2 separate regions of the Homo sapiens genome follow, and region 1 is linked to region 2. Evidence: promoter capture Hi-C in human tissues and cell types (Jung and others, 2019). All regions are on one chromosome and are shown on one strand. The core of a region is centred on a gene start or on the middle of the fragment in contact, and the rest is flanking DNA. Distances in the headings are between cores, read along the strand shown.

Region 1 (5,148 bases), core at 2,551-5,050, 890 kb after region 2:
TATTTTCTTTCAGTTTGTGGCTTGTGTTTGTATTCTCAATGGTATCTTTCAAAGAGCAGAAGTATTAGAACTCGAGTTTATCCATTTTGCATTTATGGATTATGCTTTTAGTGTTATATCTAAGAAATCTTTGCCCAACTTACAAAGAGTTTTCTCTACATATTCTTTTGAAAGTTTTATAGTTTTAGGTTTTATATCAGGTCTGATGATCTACTTTGAATTTTTGTGTGTGGTATGAGCTATGGATTGAAGATAATTTTTTTTTTGCATGTGGACATCCAGTTCAACAGTTTAACATTACAACTCAGAAATACTTGTCATTTTCACTTACATAATTTCCACTCTACATTTTAAAGGAGTAATTTATTTTGAAAATGTTTTCCAGATTAATTTTGGGTTAAAAATATTTTTACTGGGGATGCAGTGGAAGGTGTTCTTACATTTCTGCAGCATGGGCTGATTGCCTCTCTGTCCCTTTCTGCTCTAAGGGGTCTCATCATCCAGCCAATGAGTGAGCTGACTCCACCTCAGGGAGTCCATTTACCATCAACATCACTCGTGTTCTCATCACAGTCTTTAGGCAAACACAAGATATCAGAGATCATAGACATTCAAGTGGTTTTATTTAAGCTAACTGTTAGGCTTTTTTATTTTTTAACAGTCAATACATATAATATTTAAATTAAGAATTTTTAAATATTTCAGTTTTTAAACTACTGTTACAACTATGTCAACTTAAGAAGCAAACTATTTGGTGGCCTTTCTCTTCCTCTTTATTGAAAACCTGGCAAAGGAACGAACTCCTGAATTTTCAGTTCCTAAAAATGAGTAGTGTAAAGGAAAGGTGGTCTTTAAAGTTTTTTTTTTTTGTTAATGTGCAACACATTCTTTTCTCATCATATAAATAATGAGTTAATTGTAGGAAATTTGGAAATACAAAGAGATAGTTTTTAAATGACCTATAATTCCATGACCCAGAGCTATTAGCTTTTTAATATACTTTCTTTGGGTCTTTATTTTTTCTATATAATTGGGATTATACCACATTTACAGTTTTACTGCCTGTTTTTTTTTCCACTTGCCATTATATCAAGATATTTCTTCTATTTTTTTAAATAGTCTCAGAAGCATAATTCTTAATGGAAACATTGTACTCCAGTACATGAATCAGTGTATCATCCTTTATTTAACCATTTTCCTCATATGGACATAAATATTGCTCCTAATTTGCTATATCACTCTTGCTTTAAGAAACATTTGTGCTTAAATTTTATCTCATGTCAGATAAATTCCTAGGATAAATTTAGGATAAATTCCTAAAAATAAAAATGTTGAGTCAAAAGCCATTCAAAGATATTGTACTACTTTATAATTCCGCCAAGTAATATATGAGTATGCTCCTTTATATACACCAAATATTTTTATCTCCCCTGTATTAGTCCATTTTCTTACCACTATAAAGAAATGCCCAAGACTGGGTACTCTGTAAAGGAAAGAAGTTTAATTGACTCACAGTTCAGAAGGCTGTGGAGGCCTCAGGAAACTTACAATCATGTCAAAAGGCAAAGGGGAAGCAAGACACCTTCTTCACAAGGCAGCAGGAAGGAGAAGTGCTGAGTGAAGGGGAAAGAGCCTCTTATAAAACCATTAGATCTCATGAGAACTCACTGTCACAAGAACAGCATGGGGGAAACTGCTCCCATGATTCAATTACCTCCACCTGGTTTCTCCGTTGACATATGAGGATTGTGGGGATTATGGGGATTACAATTCAAGATGAGATTTGGATGGGGACACAAAGCCTAATCATATCATTCTGCCCCAGGACCCTCCCAAATCTCATGTCCCTTTTACATTTCAAAACCAATCATGCCTTCCCAACAGTTCCCCAAAGTCATAATTCATTCCAGCATTAACCAAAAAGTCCAAGACTGAAGTCTCACCTGAGACAAGGCAAGTCCCTTCCACCTATGACCCTGTAAAATAAAAAACAAGTTACTTCCAAGACACAATGGGGGTATAGGCATTGGGTAAATGTTCCCATTCCAAATGGGAGAAATTGGAACTATGGGGCTACAGGACCCATGCAAGTCCAAAATCCAGTGGGGCAGTCAAATCTTAAAGCTTTGAAATGATCTCCTTTGACTCTATCCACGTCCAGGTCACACTGATACAAGAGGTGGGCTCCCAAGGCCTTGGGCAGCCCTACCCCTGTGCTTCTGCAGGGCACAGTCCTCTTCCCAGCTGTTTTCACAGGCTGGTGTTGAGTGTCTGCGGCTTTTCCAGGTGCATGGTGCAAGCTGTCGGTGGATCTACCATTCTGGGGGCTAGAGGATGATGGCCCTATTCTTACAGCTCCACTAGGCAATGCCCCAGTGGGGACTCTGTGTGGAGGTGTCTGACCCCACATTCCCTTAATCACTCTAGCAGAGGTTCTCCATGAGGGCTCTGCCCCTGTAGCAAATTTCTGCCTGGACATCCTGCCATTTCCATACATCCTCTGAAATCTAGGTGGAGGTTCCCAAACCTCAGTTTTTGATTTATGTGCACCCGTGGGCCCAATACCACATGTAGGTCACCAAAGCTTGGGGCTTGCACTGTCTGAAACAACAGCCAGAGCTATATGTTGGCACCTTTTAGCCATGGCTAGGACGCAGGGCACCATGTCCCCAGAGTGCACAAAGCAGCAAGGCCCTGGGCCCAACCCCTGAAACAGTTTTTTCTTCCTAGGCCTCCAGGCCTGTGGCGAGAGGGCCTGCTGTGAAGACCTCTGACAGGCCCTGGAGACATTTTTCCCATTGTCTTGGTGATTAACGTTTGGCTCTTCATTATTTATGCAAATTTCTGCAGCCAGGGCTTGAATTTCTCCTCAGAAAATGGGCTTTTCTTTTCTATTGCATCATCAGGCTGCACATTTTCCAAACTTTTATGTTCTGCTTCCCTTTTAAACATAAGTCCCAATTCCAAACCATCTATTAGTGAATGCATAAAACTGAGTGCTTTTTAGAGCACCCAAGTCACTCCCTGAATGCTTTGCTACCTAGAAATTTCTTCCACCCCAAATCATCTCTCTCAAGTTCAAAGTTGCACAGATCTCTAGGGCAGGGGCAAAATGCTGCCGGTCTCTTTGCTAAAGCATAACAAGAGTCACCTTTGTTCCAGTTCCAAATAAGTTCCTCATCTCCATCTGAGACTACCTCAGCCTGGACTTCATTGTCCATATCACTATCAGAATTTTGTTCAAAAGCATTCAATGAGTCTCTGGGAAGTTCCAAACTTTCCCACATCTTCCTGTTTTCTTCTGAGCCCTCCATACTGTTCCAACCTCTGCCTGTTACCCAGTTTCAAAGTCACTTTCACATTTTTGGGTATCTTTATAGTAGCACCTCACTCTCTGTGGTACCAATTTACTGTGTCAGTCCGTTTTCGTACCACTATAAAGAACTGCCTGAGACTGGGTAATTTATAAAGAAAAAAGGTTTAATTGACTCACAGTTCAGCATGGCTGGGGAGAACTCAGGAAACTTACAGTCGTGGTGGAAGGCAAAGGGGAAACAAGGCACCTTCTTCGCAAGGCAGCAGGAAGAAGTGTCAAGAAAAGTGGGGAAGAGCCCCTTATAAAACCATCAGATCTGGTGAGGACTCACTCATTTTCATGAGAACAAGTTGAGAACAGCCTGGGGGAACCACCCCCATGATTCAGTTATCTCCACCAGGTCTCCCTTGACACGTGGGGATTATGGGGATTACAAGTCAAGATGAGATTTGATGGGGACACAAAGCTTAACCATGTCATCCCCTCACCAAAAAAAAGTTCTATTCCTGCAGAAAAAGCTATAGTCATGCCCTGCTTAATGATGGTGATACATTCTGTTAATAACAAACTCATCATTAGGTGATTTCCTTGTCATGTGAACATCATAGTGTGTGCTTACACAAACCTAGATGGTGTAGCCAACTACACACCTAGGCTGTACAGTATGGCCTGTTGCTCCTAGGCTGCAAACCTACAGCATGTGACTGTACTGAATACTGCAGGCAGTTGTAACACAATGGAAATGTTTGTGTATCTGAATGAACATAGAGAAGGTATAGCAAAAATAAAGCAGTATAATCTTATGGGGCCACTATCATGCGTGGTCTGTTGCTGACCAAAACATTGCTCTTCAGTATGTGACTATACTGCTTTTACGATGAGTTTCTATCAACATCTAGATTCATAAGTGACTTCTCTATTAATAAAATTTGTTCAAGAAAATCATGGTATATGAATAATTCAGCAAATATTTGAATTCTTGCCTGTTTATGGAATTCTCGCCTATCTGTGGGGTATTCATTAACCAAATATTAATTGGGAACCTACCATGTGCCAGTCTCTCGGGGTAAAGCAGTAAACGTAGCAACATGATCCTTGCTTTCATGGAACTTAGAGTCTAAAGAAGGACATTGTACAGTGAACCAGATGGCAAATAAGTACCATGAGTTCAGATAGTGACAAATAGTCTGGAGAAGTTAAATGGGGTATGGGATGGGGAGTGACAGAGGTGGAGGGCGGTAGCCTGAGGTGGCCAGAAAAAAAAAAATCTGAGCTGGAACCAGAATGATAAGTAGGAGCCACTGTGAAAGCTGGACAGACTAACTGTGGGAGCTGGGTACAGTCCTTGGTTCCCGAATGTTGGCAGGAAAACCTACTCCATAGTGCTGTGTCCCACTTGTACTTCAATGCTGCACCTTCCCGCTGGCCAGTTGCCTGTCTTTCTTTTCAAGGCAAGGTCTTACTCAGCTTCTTGTAGACTTCCCCAGCTCCAAGTTAGGACTGTGCCTTCCCCATATTTCATTCACGTCTCCTGAAATCTTCTTGGGAAGTCTGCTGTTTTCTTCCTTTCTTTTTATTCCACTACGGAGAATTTGAGTTGTAACTGTTCCACTGGCTTTATCCCATTTTATTCACACATTTGCAACAAACTTGTCCAGTTCCTTTTTGTTTTTGTTTATTTGTTTTGTTCCTTCTTTTGGAGAGCTGAGAGAATGGATGGAGGAAGAGCTTATCAAAGTCAATGCAGGCTTGTTATGGAAAATAGGAAAAGTACAGAAACATACTTAAAAATAGAGGGAAAAAAATCACTCCTAATTCCTCTATCCAGAAGT
Region 2 (5,617 bases), core at 65-2,564:
CTTTGGTGCGCAGCTCCAGGGCACCCTGTATGATGTTGAGCTCCTCCTTCACCAGGTCACTGTAGGGGTCTGCGGCCCGCAACGTCTCCAGCAACTTCTCCCGCGTGTAGAAGGTGCTTATCTCCTGGCGCAGCGCCCAGTCCAGCAGGCGGCCCAGCGGGTAGCACACGGGGAAGGCGGCTGCCATCAGAAGCCGGGTCAGGCACACGCTGTGCGAGGCGATGGCCAGCCCGTGCCGCGAACACACTGAGTAGGGGCAGATTTCGGCGCCCAGGAATACCGCGCCGGTGCACACGAGCGCCGGCAGCCACGGGAAGTGGATCCCCTCTTCGCTGTAGTCTTCCCCGGTGCCCCCGAAGCCCGGCGGCAGCGAGGTGTACAGCCAGCCAGCCAGGGCCGCGTTGGCTCCGGCTTGGCCCAGGAGTAGGGTGCAGAGCAGATGGGTCCCCCTGCCGCGAACGGCCTGCACGCGGCGCGCCTGCTCCTGCTCGGCGGCCGAGCCGCTGTTCCGCAGCACCCGTAACTCCACCGGGTCCAGCGACAGCAGGCTCAGGCGCAGGCCGCTGAACAGGGCCGACAAGGCTAGCAGCAGGAGCGCCCCGAGCGCCCGCAGCCACGCAGGGGGCAGCAGGTCCCCGCCTGGGCCGTACAACCGCGGGCGAACGCGCAGCAGGAAGCCGCCGGCGGCGCCGTGGTGGTGCCACGCGCGCCCATCCCAGGCGCAGAGTGAAAAGAGCTTCCCGCCACCGCCCGCGCCGCCCCGCTCCGCTTCGCCCTTGCGCAGCTCCCGCACTCGCACCTGGACCAGGGCCGAGCCTGCCACGCCCCCGGGACGCAAGGGCCCCAGGACTTCCACGTCCGATGCCCAGTCGCTCTGCTCCCTGCAGCGCTGCGGTCCCGGGGGGCGAGTGGGGACCGCGCTGGGGGCCACGCCGCCACCGCCCGGGGGCTCCTCGATGAACACGAGCCGCGGAGCCCAGTCGCCGGTGCCATTCTCCCCCGAGTTGAGGGTCGGTGAGGGCACCGGTGCGGCGGTGGCCGGCGGTCCTGGCTGGAAATAGACACGCAGGAGGAAGCTGGTGCCTTCGGCGGCGCGCAGGGTGCCCCCCTCCAGGGACACGCGGCCTCCAGCAGTGTCCTCGGGCCGCAGGCCCAGCAGCCAGGCGGCGGCGGCCGGGGGCCGAGGAGACAGGGAAAAGAAGAGCAGGAGCACAGCGCCTCGGCTGCAGCAGTCCCGGAGCCTGACACCCACCGCTGCTGCCGCCGCCGCGGCCGCCGCCATCCTGCACCCAGCGCAGCTGCACGTGATACTGCAGGAAGCCGAGCGAGAGCTGGAGGGAGGAGGAGCCGGAGCTGGGAACCCAGCCGCAGGCAGGTCACCACGTGTACGCCCACTGCGCGCGTGGGCTGGTGGCGGTGGGCATTCAGACTCCACCTGGGCAGGAGGTCCCCGCTGGAGGCTGGAGGTGGCCAGGCATCACCGCACTGTGCGTAGCGGGTACACACTTCGGTATATCTGAGATGCAGCCTGAAAAGTCTGGGTTTGCAGCATGGCCTCCTACTCCAAAAGTAAGGTGCTCCTCTGCGAACTCCTACCCGGCAGTAATTCCCTGCCGGCTCCACTGCTTCCCCATTGGCCCGGGAAATTTCCCAGCTTTTCGCTTCTCCTGCCACTTGCATTCCCCCTTCTGGTCAAAAGAATATTCTGGAGTCAAGTCTTGAATATGTGAAAACTTTTAGCCTCAACTCCAGCCGACCTTTCATTATTGTAAACATTTCTGGATTATTTAAGTTCAATTCTTAGTTAAGATCCGAATGTCCATCAATAAGAAACTGTTGAAATAAGTGAAACCACTGTGCAATGGAATACTATGCGGCAATAAAAAATAATGCGGTGGATCTGTTGTATATGTGATACGGAAAAAAATCTCCAAAGTAATTGTAGAAACAAAGTAAGGTGCAGAACAGCAAGTATAATATGCTACCATTTGTGTTAAAAGTATTTATGTATAAATTTGTACACACACACACACTTATATGAGATTTATTTATTTATTTATTTATTTTGAGATGGAGTCTTGCTCTGTCGCCCAGGGTGGAGTGCAGTGGCACAATTTTGGCTCACTGCAACCTCCACCTCCCGGGTTCAAGCGATTCTCCTACCTCAGCCTCCTGAGTAGCTGGGATTACAGGCGTGCGCCACCGCGCCCAGCTAATTTTTATATTTTTAGTAGAGATGGGGTCTCACCATGTTGGCCAAGCTGGTCTCGAATCCCTGACTTCAAATGATCCATCTGCCTCGGCCTCCCAGGGTGCTGGGATTACAGGCGTGAGCCACCGCGACCCGCCGTTTACATCTTTTAATTAATTTATTTATTTTGAGACGGAGTTTCGCTCTTGTCACCCAGGCTGACGTGCAATGGCGCGATCTCGGCTGACTGCAACCTCCGCTTTCCAGGTTCAAGCGATTCTCCTACCTCAGCCTCCTGAGTAGCTGGGATTACAGGCGCCCGCCATCACGCCCGGCTAATTTTTTTTTTTTTTTTTTTTGGTAGAGACGGGGTTTCACCACGTTGGCCAGGCTGGTCTCGAACTCCTGACCTCAGGTGATCCGCCTGCCTCGGCCTCGCAAAGTGCTGGGATTACAGGCATGAGCCACCGTGCCTGGCGGGTTACATCTTAATTATAGTACAATATCAAAAGCAGGAAGTTGATATTGGTGTAATGTGTGTATATAGTTCTCTATCATTTTATCACATGTATGGATGTATGTGACCATCACTGCACTCAAAATACAGATCTATTATCACCAAGATCTGGGAGGGAGACTTTCTTATTAAATTCCTTATATTGTTTGAATTTACTCGACTATATTATTTTTATGCATTTATTTTTAAACTTTATATAGTAAAATTCACTTTTTGGTGTACTGTTCTATGAATGTTGACAAATGCATATACATGTAAACATCACAATAAAAAGTAATTCCATCACCACCACCCCCCAAATTCTCTTACCGTCCTATTGTATGTAGTCAACCCCTCCCTTCGTCTTATCCTCTGGGAACTACTGATCTGTTCTCCCCTATAGTTTTCTTTTCCGGATTATCATATAAATGGAGAATACAGTCTGTAGCCTTTTGGGTTCTCCCTTCCTTTACTAAGTTAGCATAATGCATTTACGATTCATCTATGTTGTTGTGATTTTCAGTAGTTCATCCTTTTGTATGGCTGAGTAGCATTCCATTATATGGATGTGTCACTGTTTGTTTATCCATTCAATAAAGGATATTTAAGTTATTTCCAGTTTTTAGCAATTATTAATAAAGTGGCTATGAACATTTGTGTGATGGTTTTTGTGAGAACATAAATTTTTATTTCTCTTGGGTAAATTTATCATAAGTCTGTATTACATTTTAAAATATAGTAATCCTAACTACTTGGTAGGCTGAAGTGGGAGGATCTCTTGAGGCCAGGAGTTAGAGACCAGCCGGAACAATGTAGGGAGGCCCTGTCTCTAAAAAATTAAAAATTAAAAAAAATTAGCCAGGCATGGCGACACATGCCTGTAGTTTCATCTACTTGGGAGGCTGCAGCAAGAGGATCACTTGAGCCCAGGAATTCGAAGCTGCAGTGAGCTATAATCGCATCACTGCACTCCAGCCTGGGCAACAGCATGAAACCTTGTCTCTAAAAATAATTAATAAATTAAAAAGGAAGAGTTATTTTACATACCACCCTTGGCACCTGGGTTTAGTGTAAAATCATCCCTATGTGTGAAATCTCATTTTCCGTGGCATTTGTGACATGCCATTGTCTCAGAATACACTAGATCCTGTCCACTATAAGCTGCTTTTTGCATGGGCTACTTAAGAGACAGAAGGGAGGTTTAATCTTATGAGGGAACATTGAGGCATTTATTCGAAGTATAAGGGAAGGAGAGAACTGGGGTCAACCATATGATTGTTTTTCTTCCTTTCTTTCTTTCTTTTTTTTTTTTTATTGAGACGGAGTCATGCTCTGTCACCCAGGCCGGAGTGCAGTGACGCGATCTTGGCTCACTGCAACCTCCACCTCCTGGGTTCAAGCAATCCTCCTGTCTCAGCCTCCCAAGTAGCTGGGATTACAAGAGTGTGCCACCACACCTGGCAAATTTTTGTGTTTTTAGTAGAGATGGGGTTTCACCATGTTGGCCAGGCTGGTCTCAAACTCCTGACTTCAGGTGATCCACCTGCCTCGGCCTCCCAAAGTGCTGGGATTACAGGCGTGAGCCACCCGCCCAGCTGATTGTTTTTCTTAAGTGCAAAAAAGCGCTTACTTCTCTCCTGACACTTAGACTTCTTTCCCTTCCCAACCTAAACTCCTCAGCACAAAGATACCCGCTATCCTAAGGGCTTTCCCAGCTCTTTTAGACCACAGAACATTATCATCATTACAATACCACGTAACATCTTTAACAAGCTTTAAAGTTATGAAGGAATTTCTTATTTATTATTCCATATACACAAGAGCCCTGGGAAGTAGGTATAATTATACCCATTTTACAGATCAGGTTAAATGACTGGTAAAACTTCTTTGGACCCTAGCTTGATGCTTCCTTTATCTGGTAGAGCTGACGGAAATAAAATGTTTAAAAAATATTAGAGCAGGAATTAAAAAACTGAAATTTCTGGTTATAAAGTATTACATGCTTATTAACAAAAATTTTAATGCAGAAGAACATAAATAAAAATACACCATGACCCACCAACTAGAGATAAACACTGTTAACATTTTTTATACTACTTTTTACATTTTCTACATAGATAAGTAATGGAGAAATACATGCACACACACACACACACACGTGCTCTCCATATAGTTACATATTTTATAATTAAATATGTATTATACATAATTCTAGTCAGCTCCTGCTACTTAACACATCAAGGGCTTTTTCCCCAATGTAATAAAAATCATTCATAAATGTCATTTAAATAAATCAAATATATATGTATTACATATGTATTGAGAAAGAGAGAGAACTGTAAGAATGAGCCTATTCCCAATTGCACCAGCTCTATTATTAACAAATGTTAGGCTTGGAAAATCAATCTACTTTTCTGGGCTCATTTCCTCATTCGTGAAATGACAGTTTTAAGCTCCCTACCCTTTCATGAGTCAGTGAGTAAGGGCTAATGTACACTGTGTGAAGATAATCTAGAGAGACTGAGTACTTTTCCTTTTACTGAATAGGAGGTTCTGGAAAAGTACTGGGTTTCCAGAGCTCTGCTGTAACTGAAAGGATTCCTGGGGACAGGTTCAGGCAGTGTGATTCTCCTAAGGAAGAGCTGCCAAAAATAGCTCCCCAGAATCTGAATGTTTACTGTCTTCTTAGCTTACAAGATGGGCACTTCCTCGCTTCTCAGAGAGATGGAGGAAATAATACTTACTTTTAATATCATGACTATACTATTTCAGAATGTACATGTTAAAATGCTTTTGTTTATTTCATTTCTTGTTCATCCATTCCATAAATATTTGTTAATCATCAAAGTGCCAGGCCTTGTGCTAGATATTGGGCATATCTGACACCATCTTTGTCATCTTGGAGCTTAGATTCTCCTGAGGAAGACAGA

Evidence for each region. Contacts are between HindIII fragments. The study calls those that stand out against the background at their distance.
Region 1: a contact is called between a fragment that was not itself captured here and the fragment with the promoter of CNNM1 in region 2, in 4 of the 25 tissues and cell types used here (bladder, dorsolateral prefrontal cortex, mesenchymal stem cells and 1 more).

Annotation. Positions count from the first base shown.
Region 1 is chr10:98,436,449-98,441,596 of GRCh38, reverse strand. All of the region lies in intron 3 of HPS1 (HPS1 biogenesis of lysosomal organelles complex 3 subunit 1), which reads left to right. Among named protein-coding and RNA genes, the nearest start is that of HPS1-AS1, 7.3 kb to the left of the region's middle. The HindIII fragment of the contact is 6,299 bases long and covers 651-5,148 here.
Region 2 is chr10:99,325,053-99,330,669 of GRCh38, reverse strand. It overlaps CNNM1 (cyclin and CBS domain divalent metal cation transport mediator 1), which reads right to left and starts at 1,314. Exons shown (of 11, transcript NM_020348.3): 1 at 1-1,314. The coding sequence starts at 1,282. The HindIII fragment of the contact is 11,915 bases long and covers 1-5,617 here.